4 separate regions of the Homo sapiens genome follow, and regions 1, 2 and 4 are each linked to region 3. The links are contacts of gene promoters, found by promoter capture Hi-C in human tissues and cell types (Jung and others, 2019). All regions are on one chromosome and are shown on one strand. The core of a region is centred on a gene start or on the middle of the fragment in contact, and the rest is flanking DNA. Distances in the headings are between cores, read along the strand shown. Region 1 holds the start of SRSF8 (serine and arginine rich splicing factor 8). Region 2 overlaps LOC105369439 (a long non-coding RNA gene). Region 3 holds the start of SESN3 (sestrin 3). Region 4 has its middle 140 kb from the start of SESN3.

What was found. Contacts are between HindIII fragments. The study calls those that stand out against the background at their distance.
Region 1: a fragment that was not itself captured here is called in contact with the fragment with the promoter of SESN3 in region 3 in 1 of the 25 tissues and cell types used here (hippocampus).
Region 2: a fragment that was not itself captured here is called in contact with the fragment with the promoter of SESN3 in region 3 in 1 of the 25 tissues and cell types used here (hippocampus).
Region 4: a contact is called between a fragment that was not itself captured here and the fragment with the promoter of SESN3 in region 3, in 1 of the 25 tissues and cell types used here (thymus).

The regions. Positions count from the first base shown.
Region 1 is chr11:95,065,450-95,069,787 of GRCh38, forward strand. It overlaps SRSF8 (serine and arginine rich splicing factor 8), which reads left to right and starts at 1,470. Exons shown (of 1, transcript NM_032102.4): 1 at 1,470-4,338. The coding sequence starts at 1,778. The coding sequence ends at 2,626. RefSeq lists enhancers at 1,294-2,051, 1,776-1,965, 2,546-2,655, 2,963-3,142, 3,153-3,212 and a silencer at 1,446-1,525. The HindIII fragment of the contact is 3,060 bases long and covers 597-3,656 here.
Region 2 is chr11:95,478,596-95,482,800 of GRCh38, forward strand. It overlaps LOC105369439 (a long non-coding RNA gene), which reads left to right. Exons shown (of 4, transcript XR_947928.3): 4 at 2,215-2,538. Among named protein-coding and RNA genes, the nearest start is that of SESN3, 250 kb to the left of the region's middle. RefSeq lists an enhancer at 3,709-4,205. The HindIII fragment of the contact is 7,251 bases long and covers 1-4,205 here.
Region 3 is chr11:95,228,437-95,232,451 of GRCh38, forward strand. SESN3 (sestrin 3) reads right to left here and starts at 2,766. Exons shown (of 10, transcript NM_144665.4): 1 at 2,347-2,766. The coding sequence starts at 2,424. It overlaps LOC100129203 (a long non-coding RNA gene), which reads left to right and starts at 1,750. Exons shown (of 6, transcript NR_110295.2): 1 at 1,750-2,059; 2 at 2,689-3,137; 3 at 3,616-3,740. RefSeq lists silencers at 2,320-2,629, 2,640-2,789 and enhancers at 3,145-3,784, 3,785-4,015. The HindIII fragment of the contact is 13,238 bases long and covers 162-4,015 here.
Region 4 is chr11:95,364,990-95,369,203 of GRCh38, forward strand. No RefSeq gene overlaps it. Among named protein-coding and RNA genes, the nearest start is that of SESN3, 140 kb to the left of the region's middle. The HindIII fragment of the contact is 4,861 bases long and covers 1-4,214 here.

The sequences.
Region 1 (4,338 bases), core at 877-3,376, 160 kb before region 3:
ATGCTGAAGCCAGAGGTTACAGTGGGCTGCCTGTATTCTGTGACAAGGGATCCATTCATACCTAAGAGGACACATGAGCTCCAGTATACATGTCCAAGCATGTTCTGAGCAACACTGTAAGAGGCCAAAAGTGGAAACAACCCAAGTGCCCATCAACAGCACAAACATTTATACCATTGAATGCCTTACGGCAAGGTAACAGGATCAAGTACAGCTACATGGAACACATAGATGAGGGAAATAAAACACAAAATACATTAAAATATAAAAAGCACAATTCTATGTATATAAGGTTACATAACATTTTCAAAATCAGCAACGTTTTAATTAATTTAATTAATTTAGAATTCTCCTGCAGAGGAGTTTTCTCTCTTTTCTCCAATGTGTTAATTTATTTAATCATTTATTTACAACAGCACAGATTAATATTTATTTTATATTTTGGAATATGATATAGTAGTATTTTAGTTTGTTCCTTAAATTGTTCAAGATTTGGCCATTGGGAGCTGTTTTATTGGTTTTTGTACCCCTCTAAAATTACCCCATCAATGCTTTTGTTTGTTTTCTATTTATCACATCCTTATTTTCCAGCACTCCAAGATGCTCTAGGCCCTTTCTGTATATTTCCTTTCCAGATTTAGAAACTGTATTTCTTCATCAGTATTGCTAGATTGTTTTTTTCTTTAAAAGTGTTAGATTTCAGTTTTATTAATCATCTTTTTAAAAAAACATATTGTCCCTTTTATTTGTAATTCTATTTTTATTTTAATGTTTTATTTTTTGTTTTGGTTTTGTTTTACTAATTGCTTGACTTCAACATAAAAAAAGTTTTAGAAATGTGGTTATTAATTTTCAAGTAAATATGATTGGATTCAGGTTTTTTATTTTTAACCTTCAATATTATTTCACTGAGGTCCAGATGTGCTGAATTTATTGACCTATTAAATTTTAATTGACATTTATTTTGTAGTCTTGTATTGGGAAATTCTTCTGTTTTCTATATATTTTTGGTTGTTGCAGGTTATATGATCAAAATTGTTGTTTGTTGTGCAAATTATTATAGCATTACTAGTTTTGTTCTCTGCACTATTGATTTCTGAGAAAACGGTGTTACGGGGAAAAAACAAACTTCCATCATGAGTGCAGATTTTTCAGTTTTACCTTATAACTCTCAGTCTTGGCTATGTGTCACTGTTATGTGTTTAGGTGCGTTAAGTTCATCACTGTAATGTTTTCCTAGTGAATTTTCTTTTCAATAACTATGAAATGTGCTCCTTTGATCCTATCAATACACTGGATATTAATATTGTTGCCCTAGGTTTCTTTTGTTTAATATTTGTCTGGATTGCCTGTTCCCATAAATTGACCTTTAATCAGTTAGCTTTGTTCTTAAGATTGGTTTAAAACGTAGAATAATAGGGAGGAGCATGGGAGGGTGGGACGTCTAATGTAAATCCAGCCCAGTGATTACATTAGCTGGGCGCTGATTAGGTTAGGATGTTGCCCAGGTACAAGGCCAGGATCTTCGGGGCCTGGCTTCATTTGGAGTTCAGCTACCAAAAGGAAACCTTCCTCTGGGTCCTGGAGTATTTGGCCTGAAATTGGGAACTCGGAAGTTGCTGCTCCAGGGCGCTCCCTGCGGAGCTCCGCCGCCCGCCTCTCCGCCCGGCCTTTCCCGGCGTCCCCACGCGGGGCGCAACCGCGAGAAAGAAACGCAGGTCGCACCGTCAGCGCCCAGAGCAGCGCCAGTTTCCGGGCCCGGGCTGCTCTCGGAGCCATGAGCTGCGGCCGCCCCCCTCCCGACGTGGACGGCATGATCACCCTCAAGGTGGACAACCTGACCTACCGCACCTCTCCCGACAGCTTGAGGCGCGTGTTCGAGAAGTACGGGCGCGTGGGCGACGTGTACATCCCGCGGGAGCCCCACACCAAGGCGCCCCGGGGCTTCGCTTTCGTCCGCTTTCACGACCGGCGCGACGCCCAAGACGCCGAGGCCGCCATGGACGGGGCGGAGCTGGACGGACGCGAGCTGCGGGTGCAGGTGGCGCGCTATGGCCGCCGGGACCTGCCCCGCAGCCGCCAGGGAGAGCCACGCGGCAGGTCCAGAGGCGGCGGCTACGGACGGCGGAGCCGCAGCTACGGGCGGCGGAGCCGCAGCCCCAGGCGGCGACACCGCAGCCGATCCCGGGGTCCCAGCTGCTCCAGGTCCCGCAGCCGATCTCGCTATAGGGGTTCTCGCTATAGCCGGTCTCCCTACAGCCGATCTCCTTACAGCCGGTCGCGCTACAGCCGCTCTCCCTACAGCAGATCTCGCTACAGGGAATCTCGCTACGGCGGATCTCACTACAGCTCATCTGGTTACAGTAACTCTCGCTACAGCCGATATCACAGCAGCCGGTCTCACTCGAAGTCTGGGTCCTCCACTAGCTCTCGCTCTGCATCAACCTCCAAATCGAGCTCTGCGCGACGATCCAAGTCCTCCTCGGTCTCCAGGTCTCGCTCGCGGTCCAGGTCTTCATCTATGACCAGGAGTCCTCCCCGGGTATCCAAGAGGAAATCCAAGTCAAGGTCGCGATCCAAGAGGCCCCCCAAGTCTCCTGAAGAGGAAGGACAGATGTCCTCTTAAGAAAATGATGCATCAGGAAGCAACGTGATGGAGGACTTGGGGGAAAAGGATCACATACTCAGTCTATGGAAGCAACGTCCCTGGAAGAAGAGGCTGCCTATTGAAAAGGTTGTGTCACACTTTTCTACCTTTTTGCCAGTTTGAAGCTTTGCATCAGGTGGCAAAATTCATTCTATGTGCCGTTTTGTTGTTATTCACATTTTATTGTAACTTAGGAGGTGAACGACCTAAGATTACGTTATTGGGTTTGGATATTTGAGGCAAAAATTTATTTTTATTTCTATAGTGATGACTGTTTTGGTTTGAAATGAACAGATTGGTAACCTAATTTGTGGCCTCCTGACTTTTAAGGAAACGTGTGCAGCCATTACACACAGCCTAACGCTGTCAAGACATGCTTCAACATTGCCTTCATTCCTTAAAAACCTACAAAAGGTGGTGTAAATTAATATGGATAATTTTATTTACCTCCAGGTCTAAAAGGTAGTGTGACCCAAATTTGTATAAAGATTTTTCATGTGAAAGGACTGGGGTTTTAGCAAACACAGGTCTAATCTCTTTTGTGTTTTTGTGCACCAGGCCCGGCTGCGTAGCAGTTGAGTGATGCTGGTTAGCTATTAAGGTGGCCTGTTGCAGTGCAGAGTGCTGAGCTGCTTCCTGTTTTCTTCTGATTGCTCCTGGGGAAAACACGCCTTGTCCTGAAGAACAAATGGCTGTCCAGTTTATTAAAATGCCTGTCAACTGCACTTCCAGTCACCCAGGCCTTGCAGATAAATAATGGAGCATGCAGTGAGCACATCTAGCTGACGATAATCACACCTTTTCCCCCGTCTTTTCTGAAAAATTGTAAATCTGATCATATCAACATGTATGAACTTAAAATATGGAGAATGTTATGGAAGAAATAGTTTATAAGTTTGTTAAGTACTTATAACATGGTTTATCTTTTTGATTATTAATTTTTTACGCTAACCATTGTTTCTGTAGTTAAAATTGTTTTCTTGGTGTTATCTTTTCTCAGAATAAAATTAGAAACTTTTGATGGAAAGTAGGTTGTTTTATTTTCTGTATGACTTTTGGATATTTGTACTTTTGAGAAAATTATTAGCACCAAGTGTTTCTCAAAATATAATTTTTAAAAAATCCTTAATAGGCTTTTAGCTATGTGCTTTATTGTTTTATCACAATGCAGTTTATTTGTAGTTTCTCTCTTTTTTCCTCACACCTATGGTTTTTTTACTTCCAAAATTATTTTCAAATAATCCATTTTTGGCTTTCATCATTATCCCTACTAGATGTTATGTGTTCTTTTGCAATTGTTTCTGCTTATACCTTTACTAGCAAAGGGAAAAATAACAATTTGGTGTCAATGATCTGGTGACAATAGGATTACATTGGAGCCAATTGAATAAATTTATTCTTTCAATCATATGGATCTTCATTAATATTTTTGACTGAATTATCAATTAAAAATATTTCATTCCCTTTGTGCAGAAACTGCTAAATCCAGGGTTCGATTCTTGAATGAACTGGCAAGGTGGCTGTGGTCTGTAGATATACATCCCACATTTTGTTGTTATAACAGTTAGTAGTTAGTATTGCTTTCATATATAGACTCCAGAATCTAAATTTTACGATAATGACATTTCTTCTGGTCATGACAAATGTAATATTTTACAAATATAAATCTACGTAGAATCCAAAGACACACA
Region 2 (4,205 bases), core at 1,298-3,797, 250 kb after region 3:
ATTTCTGCTGAATAAACTTGAGGGCAGGAAGAGAGAATCAAACTGGTTTTTGTGAATATTGTTCTGCTACTGTCAGGTCTTGCTTCTTGTGTATTCAATGAAATGTTCCTGTTGATAAATGGAAATGTGTAAATGGACAAGAGCCACTGTAGAGTTTAACACTAATGGGAAGAAAAATAATACCTTCATATACAAGAAATAATTAGTCAGAGGCCAGGATAAGGATGAAGTAGGTCACAGGAAGCTAGAAAATAGGAACCATTTGCAAAGGAGTATGTGAGACAAAGCTAGTAAAGTTAAGGAAGAAAGTGGAGAGACCTGAGCACCAAGGAATACGATAATAGCTTAAGTGTTGATTACTTGCTCTGAAGTAGACACATTCATTGTACCTGAAAAAAGTCAAATAGACTTTGGCTCAAATATTTGTAAGCCTCTATGTGAAATGGGAATCAGACTTTTCTAAGGAGGCTTCAGAGAGGAGAACTGGCACCAGTGTGCCAAGCTCCAAGGAGGCAAACTTTGGCACAGTATCTGAAAGAGCTTTCTAACAATCACTGCATCTGAAGGTGAGCTGGCTGCCTCCAGAGCAGAGAATTTCCCAGTGCTGAAATTGTCCAGGCAGAGTCAGGGCTGTGGGAAAAGGAATGTAAGCAATAAAGGTGGAGGTTTGGAGACTTGGAGACTTGGAGATTATAGTAGTCTATATTTTTCTGAGGGCAGGAGAACTCAAGAACTCTCCAGTTTAAAGTAAGAATAAAAACTAGGCCAGGCACAGTGGCTCATGCCTGTAATCCCAGCACTTTGGGAGGCAGAGGTAGGTGGATCACCTGAGGTCAGGAGTTCAAGACTAGCCTGGCAAACAGCAAAACCGCATCTCTACTAAAAATACAAAAATTAGCCTGGCGTGGTGGCAGACGCCTGTAATCCTAGCTACTCAGGAGGCTGAGGCAGGAGAATTGCTTGAACCTGGGAGGTGAAGGTTGCAGTGAGCTGAGATCATGCCACTACACTCCAGCCTGGGTGACAGAGCAAGACTCTGTATCAAAAAACAAACAAACGAACAAACAAAAAATAAGTGGCAGGAAGAGGCTGGGTTTTGTACCCACACAGATACAGATCCCAGCTCAAATTGCACCTCTGCACTTACTTGCCGAGGGCCCTCGCTGTTTTCTACACTCTCTGGGACTCAGTCTCTTCTCTGTCTATAAAACAGTATAGTCACAGCTATCCTACAATGTTCCAGTGAGCATTAAGTGGTATATCTCATGGAAATTGTCCTAACACACAGAAGTGTGTTTTAGCAAGATAGAGAAATATGGCCCAGGGAAAGGCTGACTTTAGAAAATCCAAAGCTGTGGAATCTCTAAGAACCGCCTCTGAGAAGTAACTTTATATGGGAAACAATGTTGACCTCTCTCTACATTTTTTATATTGTATTTCCTTTCTTGGGCCTGAGATCCTGGAGATCTTCCACTCACTTGAATAGCAATTTCTTGAACCATCGCAATGGCCTGAATTTAAATGGGTAAGAATCAGTTAGTACTAACAAGTCTTACAGAAAAGAAGAGAGGGTTAGGAGCTCAAGATTATTCCTCAGAAAGGATATCCCTTCTCCTAAGGCTTAGGCAGCAACAGTGAACAAGGATGACAACACAGACATCCCAGTATTGTTCAAAATACAGAAAGCAAAGTAAAAGTTGAGACAAATAGTTAAGATATTCAGTTCATAAGCTTATCTATTCATGGTGGATCTGGGTTTGGAAAGAAGCATATTTTATTCATCTTTTGTCCAAAGGTCTAGGCATAACTGAGCTTGTCTGGGGAAACTTTGTAAATGTAAGTTCTTCCTGAAATTGCAATGTGTAGATGGATTATGGTGCCCATCACATGTTATCAGGCTAAGACAGAGGAGACTATGAAAAACTTGTTATAAAAGGAGCATTGGCCAGAGGCAGAGGTTGCAATGAGCCAAGATTACACCAGTGCACTCTAGTCTGGGCAACAGAGTGAGACTCCATCTCAAAACAAAAGGTTGGGGGGCATTCAGTTTGATAGAGTATCACTGATTTGGTCAATCAATGCCTGACATTTCATTGGCCACTGTTAGTCATGGTGGGGAGGGGGCCATGATCTAAGATAACCTAATAAAGCTGAAGGAAGGGTGTCTGTTCCATAAGTGGGGACACCATCTCTTTCTCGCACTGCTCTCAACAGATGGCAGTTGCAGCCATCTTGTGACTAGAAGAAGAGGAAGCTCCATACTCAGGGGCTCCAGAACACTAGAGTCACAGTCCTGAGACACATACCTGGAGGCTGCCCTGCGTGTGGACTTCGGTATGTTTAATAATAAATTTCTTAATATTTTAAGCCAGTTTTAACTGTGTGTCTTACACTTAAAGCCAAATGTGCTCTAACTGTAAAAAGTAAGATGGGGGAATACTAATTCTCATTATAATCTTCTCCAACCAACTTTTAAAAAATAAATTCTACTGTATATATTTGAGGTATACAACACAATGTTATGAGATAGTAAAACGATTACTGTAGTAAAGCAAATTAACATATTCATCATCTCACATAGTTATCTATTTTTTATGGCAAACACAGCTAAAATCTACTCATTTGGCAAAAATCCTGAATACAATACAATATTATTAACTATAGTCCTCATGCTTTAAATTAGATCTCTAAACTTGTTCATCCTGCATATCTGCTACTTTATATCCTTTGAACTACATCTTCCCATTTTCTCCCAGCTTCCATTGATTTTCTTCAAACACCATGTACTTGTATTATTTTGATTTTTAAAAAATAAAATTTTAAGAAATCCTGTTTCTTTCATAAGTGGCGGCCACTGACATAGATCTTAGTCTTTCTCATGCTTCATAGAAACTGAGAAGAGCTTGGGTTCTTGGAATTTCAAAGGCTAAATCAGCCAGTTGATTTAATCTATTTATTTTTTAAAAAATCAATTCTGTAAAAAATTTAGTCAGGTTAAACCTTTTAACACTCACATAAGGGCAAACACTAGTTTAAATGTCTTCATTATTTCATGTTCTAACCAGTTGTGTGGCATTATGCATATAGGATATTATAACATTTGAATTTAGTGGCTAGCAATGTTGTGGCAAAATGTGATTAACATATCCTGTGGCTGTCCTCTCCCTCTCCCTCTCCCTCTCCCTCCCCCTCCCCCTCCCCCTCTCCCTCTTGTCTCCCTCTCCCCACGGTCTCCCTCTCCCTCTCTTTCCACAGTCTCCCTCTCATGCCTAGCCGAAGCTGGACTGTACTGCTGCCATCTCGGCTCACTGCAACCTCCCTGCCTGATTCTCCTGCCTCAGCCCGCCGCGTGCCTGCGATTGCAGCCGCGCACCGCCACGCCTGACTGGTTTTCGTACTTTTTTGGTGGAGATGGGGTTTCGCTGTGTTGGCCGGGCTGGTCTCCAGCTCCTAACCGCGAGTGATCCGCCAGCCTCGGCCTCCCGAGGTGCTGGGATTGCAGACGGAGTCTGGTTCACTCAGTGCTCAATGGTGCCCAGGCTGGAGTGCAGTGGCATGATCTCGGCTCGCTACAACCTCCACATCCCAGCCGCCTGCCTTGGCCTCTCAAAGTGCCGAGATTGCAGCCTCTGCCCTGCCGCCACCCCGTCTGGGAAGTGAGGAGCGTCTCTGCCTGGCCGCCCATCGTCTGGGACGTGAGGAGCCCCTCTGCCTGGCTGCCCAGTCTGGAAAGTGAGGAGCGTTTCTGCCCGGCCGCCATCCCATCTAGGAAGTGAGGAGCGCCTCTTCCCGGCCACCATCCCATCTAGGAAGTGAGGAGCGTCTTTGCCTGGCCGCCCATCGTCTGAGATGTGGGGAGCGCCTCTGCCCCCCCGCCCCGTCTGGGATGTGAGGAGCGCCTCTGCCCAGCCGCGACCCTGTCTGGGAGGTGAGGAGCATCTCTGCCCAGCCGCCCCGTCTGAGAAGTGAGGAGACCCTCCGCCTGGCAACCGCCCTGTCTGAGAAGTGAGGAGCCCCTCCGCCCGGCAGCCACCCCATCAGGGAAGTGAGGAGCGTCTCTGCCCGGTAGCCACCCCGTCCGGGAGGGAGATGGGGGTCAGCCCCCGCCAGGCCAGCTGCCCCGTCCGGGAGGGAGGTGGGGGGGTCAGCCCCCCACCCGGCCAGCTGCCCCATCCGGGAGGGAGGTGAGGGGGTCAGCCCCCCGC
Region 3 (4,015 bases), core at 1,516-4,015:
TACATTACTGAACACTTTATTAAATGGAAAACAAGATAAACTCTAAGAATCACATTTTGAGAGTTATAGATGACTTTTAACTTAGAGTTATATCAACAAGAAAAACATGTCTTTATTAGAAATAAACTTTTCATTGTTATTTTAAGAATGATGAAACATTTAAAATGCTACATACTGATTCTCTTAAGAGCACTTCAAAGTGGCACTCTTTAAAAAGCTGCAAATGTTGCCAAGTCATGTTATAACTGGCTCAAAGAATCCTATTTCCATTAAGTTATTTCATGCCACTGCATGAATCAATATTAAATACCTTGGAGTTACTAAAAACTGGAATACTGGCAGAGATGTGCTCAGCAATTATAAAATACGAAAATGTGAATACTCTTTTTCCACGTTTCTTTTAATAATGGCTAGAAATGAGGATGTTCTTTCTAGGTAAACAGAAATAGTTTCCTAAAAGCTAAAGGAAAGATGTAATATCTTAAATGCTAGCAAAGTGTCATGGATCCATAGCCATAGCTCTCTCAAAAGAAAAATGAAATACATTTTGAAGCCTAATATTACCTCCAAACATTTTATTAGCCTAACAAATTGCCAGAGCCATTAAAAAATTTTTTTATCAAAGTCAATACAGTGCTCTTTTTCCTTATTCAATTAAAAAGCATAACTTGCTGTCATTTTAACCAGGCTGCACTTTAATCAAACATGTCTTAAATGACACATTTTTTCATGTCAAAGACATAACATAAATTTAAAAATTAAGAAATAAATTTTTTTGAAAGCTAAGTTCAGATGACATCTGGCCCTGCAGTGAAAGAGTTAACATCCAACTAAGCTGATCTGCACTTCTGATCCATTACATTTCTCACAAGCTACCCTACAATGAGCTGAGCAAGTATCAACTGTAATTTGATCCTAGAGTTTATGGAAAAAAATAACTGCACATACTCAACATGCACATTTAATAAAAATCTGTTTCAAGAGAAACATATCCAATAAACACAATTTAAGGCATATTTAACTGTTCAATTAACCTCAAATCTGCAATCCCTTTGCTCTCACGCTCTCAAATAAAATAGGAAGAAAAAAAAAAGCAGCAGCCCTACTGCAGGGAAAAGAGGCTTGAAAAACAACTTTGATTGGCACTTGGCCTGACCCACAGAGGAAGAAAAACAGTTTTTGGACAAAGAGCGCAAATATTTGAGCTTGCTTACTTATGTGCTTTTTTCTTTCTTCCTTTTTTAAAAAAAAATGTAGAAAGAACAATCCCAAAGTGAACCGTATTTAGAGATGTTGACTAAAAACGGTACCATATTCATCTCCGCTTTCAGTCCCGATGCATTTGCACAGCTCAGCAATTTTAATTCATTTGTAGTGAACAAACAGAAGCATCTCACCTAACGTTTCCACTTAATAAAATGTAAAAATAGAGTTTGAATACGAATAAACTGATTATAATATTACTTTGGGGCAGCTGTTAAAATCTGATCAAAAAGTCTAGAGACCTTTTTTTCATTCCCTTCCCCATCCCTCTCGCCCTTCCCCGCGGGGCGATTAAGCCAAGTAAGCTAAACAATACTGGAGTAAACTTTCTATCAGTCACTCTAGGAAGCAGCAATAAACTGATGGTGCGCCTCATTTTTCTGGATCAACACGGGGGCAGGGGGGTGCTAAGGAGGAATAACCCACATCCACCTCAGTCTTCTCCTCCCCCAACCCCAGCCTCAGGAACTGGCCAGGTCGAATTGCATTTCCCATGGGCATAAAGTTCAAGATGCTTTACTGGTTCCTTTCGAGACTGAACTACAGACACAGGACTACCATCCAAACAATTTGAAAACGGGGGTTGTTGAGCAAGGCGCGCAAGGCAGAAGCAACCGAATAAACAAAAACAACACTCGCAAGAGTTAGCCACAGCAAAGAGGGGCCAGGTTCCTCGGGATCCGACCCAGCTGCTCTGATTTCACACCGACCTCCATCAACAGCTAAACTGCACAGGGAGGAGGATCGAACGGATCCCTCCCGCCCTCCGCCCAAGGAGCCGACCCGGGGTAGCAAGGTAGGGAAATGAGCCGTAAAGGAGAGCAAAGGCACCAAATAAAAGGAACAAGGGAAGAAAAAATATCCCAACCCCTCCAGACTTGGGTCTGTCCCGGCGGAAATAAAAAGCCGCAGTAGTCCAAACCCTCCTGCCCTCAACCCACGCCCCCTTTCTCAGTCCCTGCGGAGGGACGGTGCCCGGGGATCCCTCTCAGCCTCCCCCAGTGCGCGCCCGGGGACGAGCCGCCCGAGCCCCGGCCGGCAGGAAGCGACCCTCGCCGGCAGGACCCCGGGCCGAACCCGTACCTTCCGCAGCACTTTCCGGCAGTTGGTACAGAGCAGGTAGTTGGCGGCGGCCGACGGGCTGCCGCCGCCCCGGTTCATCGTGGCTGCGGGCGCCGAGGCGAGAGCGGGCGGAGGGCCGGGTCCGGGCTGTCACTGCGGCCACTGCAGGGCCGGTCCGTCCCCCCGCCGCCAGCCGCGATTCCGCCTCAGCCTCCTCAAGGCGGGATGTCGGGAGGAGAGGCGACTGCCTGAAAGCTAGCGGCACTGCCAGAGGCGACCACCGCGGCAGCTGCCCCAGCGACGGCGGAGACGGCGGCGGCTGCTCCTCACCGGCCCGTTGTTCCACCCGCCCCCATCTTCCAGACCCCCGCCCCCGCCAGGCTAGGACGAGCAGCCGCCACCGCTGCCACCGCCACCACCGCCGCCGCAGCGCCTCAGTGCGGCCCCGCCTCCGCCGCCCCACCACCTTCACCACCTCCACGCTCCGGTACCGCCCCTCCCGCCAATCGGACAGCTCCGGCTACGCCCCCAGGGCGCTAGCCCGCAGCCAATGAGCAACGAGAGCCCGACTGGGAGTCGCGCCGGCCAATCGCAGGGGCCGAGGAAGCCTTGAATCTCCGGGCAAGTTAAGTTTATCTCCGAGGCTCGGAACTGAAGGGAGGTGGCGGTTAGCTAAGTAGTAGGGTAGCAGGGAACAGTTTGCTCTCCTCTGCCAATAAGAGGACGAGGGTGTGTCATATGCAAATATACTGCCCTCCAAGCCCCACCCCCAAGATAAGCTACGCCCCCTTCTCTAGGTCCCTGCAGAAGTGGTGAGGAGAATGAGATAAATAGTTGGGAGCTAGAGCTCGCTAGAGAGTCTAAGATTGAGCTAAATATTTCCTGATCTCTCGAGAAAGGGGGAGGGGAGTGGGAGGATTAAATGTTCCTTCCTTCAGGGCAGTGGTTAGGCTTTCTCTCCACCAAAATCTAACTTTAGCTGTAAAGAAGACTGCAGTTATGTAGTACTTTGTATCCAGGGATCTCAAAGAACTTTACGCATCATTTATTGTGAACCTTGTTTTGCAAAGATTTCAGTTACTTGAGGCTTGGGAGGCGGATAGGGGATAAATGTCTGAGTTATATATATATTTACGCAAGTAATCGAGTTTGAGGGGAGAGACACAAAACCTCTGGTTTAGCGGTTTCCTCTTGTTTGTGAAGCACCTTCTAGCAGTTATCTTAGAGATGTAAGTTCATTTACTTGTCCAGCACTAAAAGGCCAAAGGGGCTTGTTTTCTCACCCAAAAGACCTTCCTGAGGCAGCTGTTCGGATACATGCAGAGCACAGCGCCCTGCTCAGAAAGGAAGGTTCAGAGAACAAATTGTCGTTTAAAACTATTGGGACAAACCTACCTCTTCTAAAGCTTAAAATGGTAAGTCAGGGTTTTAGCGTCCACGTTCTGCGGAGAGAAGGCAGACTTGACTGGGGAAAGCGCAGGCTGACCGAGTGTGGCGGGACAGACGGGTAGGGGAGCCAGGTCTCCCGAAGGGGCTAGCAATGCGCGTCCGAGTCGAATGCGGGTTCCCGATGCTAGACGCCCGCAACCTGCTCCCGAGTGAGAACAAAGGCCGGCGCAGAGCGAGAACCTGATTGGTGCCCGGTCCTCACTCGTGTCCTCCGGGCCCCAGAGATAACTTGCATCGCCTA
Region 4 (4,214 bases), core at 1,079-3,578, 140 kb after region 3:
CACACAGAAGTGAAATAACTTGCTCAAGTTCACACAGCTAGCAAGTAGAAGAGTGGACATTGTTCTGACTGTCAGCTCTCCCTTTCCACACCAAGTTTCCCTGTTACCACCCTAGGCTTCTTTTACTCCTTCTCTCATCATTCACTTTCCAACAGATCCCAGGCTCATCTTCGTCTGCTAGCCCCTTACATGCAGGCATTCTATGCCCAGTCTCTCCTTCCACACTCACTCTGAACCATCTCTTTAATGCCCCCATTTTTCTCTATTGCCCATATCCCTGTGACCCCCAAATTCACACTGTGGGGCTGGGCATCTCTTCTGACTTTCCAACAACCTGACTGGTGCATGCACTTGGATATCAGGTAGACACCTTTCTTTGTGCATTTAATAGGGAAGTGCCTAATATGTGCCAGGTGCTACATGGTTATTGCAGATATTGTAGTGAACAGGGCAGATGGGGTCTCTGGCTCACAGAAGTTACTCTCTAGCAGGAAAGACAGTCCAAATGCAAAGACATCCCCAAATGAACTTAAATACTGTCTTTCCTCTCCCTTGAATACTTACTCAACTTCCTGTTTTCTCAATTTCAGTTAATACCACAGCCTCGGAGTTGCCGTTAATTCCTTCTTCTTCCTCCAGGCCTAAATCCAAGTGTATCTCCTACATACCTCTTGACTCTGTTCCCTTCTTGCCATCACCACAGCCTTGGATTCATTTCCCACCTGGAAAACCTGGTCGGCTTTCTAGCTGGCTTCCCTGTCTCCAGTTCTACATGCCTCTAATCCATCTGCGACACCATTTTTTTCTAAAGTGCAAACTCGATTGTGCCCTCCCCTCTTTATATCCTCCGGTGGGGCATCTAACTGGCGACACCCCACCTCTTCTGATAATGGGTCTTTTCGTGAGAGCCCAATTCATGTGGTTGGTCCAGCTCCAACCGCCTTCTTATGTCCTCCATGCACCTGGCCATAGTGATGAGTTTCAGAATGGGCAAGAAGAGGCCAAGAAGAACTGTCATGTATAAGTATGGGGAAGGAAAGGGTCTCACTCTTGCTCTGAAATACGAATTGTTTCTTTTTCTCCACATTGGGAGAATCTCTCCAAATGTGAAGGCAGTGCATGAAAAGAAGCTGACCCAGTCAAGACAGAGCCTTAGGAAATTGTTTGAGCTCCTGGATGATTTAGTTGCCCATGAAGTGGGCCTTACTCGTGGACTTTACCAGTCACAGGGGTCAATATATTTTCCATGTTAGAATCCAGTGCTGGCACTTAATGGCTATGTAACTTTGGATAAATTATTTAACCTTTCTGAATACCAATATCCTCATCTCTAAAATGGGCATAATAATAACACCCTCACAGGATTGTAATGAGTTCCAAATGAGTTAATGCATACAGAAAGCTTAGAACATTGCTAAGTGTTAACCATTATTATTATTACCATTACTTAGCTGAGTTTGGTCTTGGGTTTCTTTAGCTTGTAATTGAAAGAGTCACAACAAATACCAAGTCCAAACTTTGTATCCTGCTTACAAGGCTGATTTCTAGCCTGCTCTCCAATGGCTCCATCACAGTCCTTATGCCTCTGTCTTGCTTGTATTAAATTTCTAAAACTCTCCAAACATTTATGCTGTTTCAGACCTTTTTCTAGGTATACAATGTTCTTTCTGCTCAGAATGCTCATCCCCAGTCACCTAGCAAAGTCAGGTAACGATTTTAAGCAGCAAGAAGAAGCAACTAACTCAGGATGCCAGCAGTTTGGGGTCTGATTTTGCCATTGATTATCTGCTGTCTCTGGGCAAGTCTCAACAATTTGGGTCCCCTGCATTTTAAAAATGATTTTTTCTTGATTCTCAAATGTACTTCTCTGTGAACAGAGTTCTATAGATTCATTGGCAGTCAAGGATTCCTTACTCAGCTCAAGTTTCAGGTGAGGAAAAAATAATAAGGCCAGTGTATTAGGCCATTCTTGCTATAAATAAATACCTTAGGCTAGGTAATTTATAAAGAAAAGAGGTTTAATTGACTCATGATTCTGCAGACTGTACAGGGAGCATGGCACCAGGCATCTGCTTGGCTTCTGAGGAGGTCTCAGGAAGCTTACAATCATAATGAAAGGCAAAGGAGGAGCCAATGGATTATATGGTGAAAGTGGGAGCAAGAAACAGAGAGTGGGAGGTGCTACGCTTTTAAACAACCAGATCTCACTCGAACTCACCCATCACCAAGGGAATAGCCCTAAGCCATTAGTAAGGGATCTGCCATCATGATCCAAACACTTTCCACCAGGCCCCACCTCCAACACTGGGGATTACATTTCAACATGAGATTTGGTGGGGACACAGATCCAAACCATACCAGTTAATTAACTCTCCCTAACTCCCATTGCTGGAATGGAGAAGACAGACTTAAATCACAGCAGGAACAGTTGGCTCCCTAGAGACAACCTTCTGAACAGATAGGTGGTCAGCCCAAGAAACAGGGCATTAAGAAGGATGTGCTTCCTTTCTTAGATCTCAAGAAGGGACAAGTGAAATTTCTTCCTGGTCACGTTCCCTGGTCCCCACCCCTGCCTTTCTAAAAACTCAAGAGTTCTACAATCTAACAGCAGCCAAATTAACTTAACTATATCTTTAAAAGCAAGAATAGTTTTCCATTGTCTCTAACGCCTGGCTAGGTTTCTAGAATATTTGGGAATAGTAGTAAAATCAAAATGTTTCTTCTGTATTTCAGCGGGAAGATACTGTCTCTGGGTCTGCATCCCTGAAGCTTTGTTTTACTGTTGGAGATGAACAAATGTAAATAATTTAAAGCATCGCCCCAGTAGTATTTTCCTCATTTAAGTTTTATTTCTATGTAAATTTACCTCAGGCCTGGAAAGGTTTGTTTCTGGCCTAGGATAAATGGCTGTTTTATTGCCAGAGTCCAGGCTGGCGAATTTCCCCAGACACTGGCTAGCTCCTGGGTGGCAGAGTTTGGCTGAAAGACATCAACGCAAACATGGTCTCTTTTTCCTTTGCCTGAACTACTATTCAAATGAAGATTATTAAAGAGATCTAAATGTGAAAATGTTATATACTAGCAACAGACACATCCCCCAAATGCATGCACATGGCCTAAATTAGACCACCGAAGTAGGCGGTGTCCAGCCTAAAAATTATAAGAAAGGAATTGGATAATGAGAGGCAGCAGTCCGTGAAGCCAGCCCACCGGCAGAGCAAGTGCAGCATCCCTAGAAGGGTTTCCTAGAGGGAGAAATGGAAGCATGTGGCACAGGAGTGGAAAGTCGCCCGTTTGTTTCTTTCCCTTCTTTCCCATCAGATTCATTTCCTCTCAACTCCTCTGTAAGAACAATAGTACTTGACTCACAAGCCCAGGTCCCATTAGCTTCTGAGGTCACGTTTTCTTTGAAAACATTATCTTATTTATTAATACTTTTAATAGAGAAGCACTACATAAACAGTCTACCCAATAAAATAATCAAAAATACATCATAGAATTTAATGATTTCTGTCCCCGCCATCTCCTTCATTTTCCGCCCCCTAAGGTTACACCTTCCACACTTTTTTGTTTATGAAAATGTGCATATACCTATATGAGGAGGAGGATGATTGCTACTTATTTTTATAAAAATAGAACCATATTTATTTTTCCGTAGCCTGCTTTTCTTAACAAGACATCGTGGAATTCTCTCTGGGTTAATAGATATTGATCATTTTGTTTTTCAATAGCTGCATAATATTTCCTATTAAAGATATACCATAATTTGAACTATTTCTCTATCAATATACATCCAAAAATAAACAAAAATAGCAATAAGCATTCTTAACATAAATATTTATGTGCTGGCAATTTTATTTTTATAGGATGAATTTTCAGAATTGGATTATTGGGCTTGCATATTTTTCAATTTAGTAGACATTTCTAGTTTATTTTTCCAAAAGGTTGTAGCAATTCAAGCCTTCCCAGAATATAGGACAGTGAAAATCTCCTCCAGGTTTACCAATTCTGGGTTTTCTTCTTTTTATTTCCCCCCCCATGTGATAGGCAAAAATGATGTCTTTAAACTTACTTTATGCTTTCTTGATTACAAGTGAGGTTGCTCATCTTTTCATGGACTTTTTTATTTCTTCTGCTGTGAATTCTCTTATCCTTTGCCTATTTTTGACTGGGTTGAAGTTGTCTTTTCTTACAAATTAAAAGAGCTCTGTACA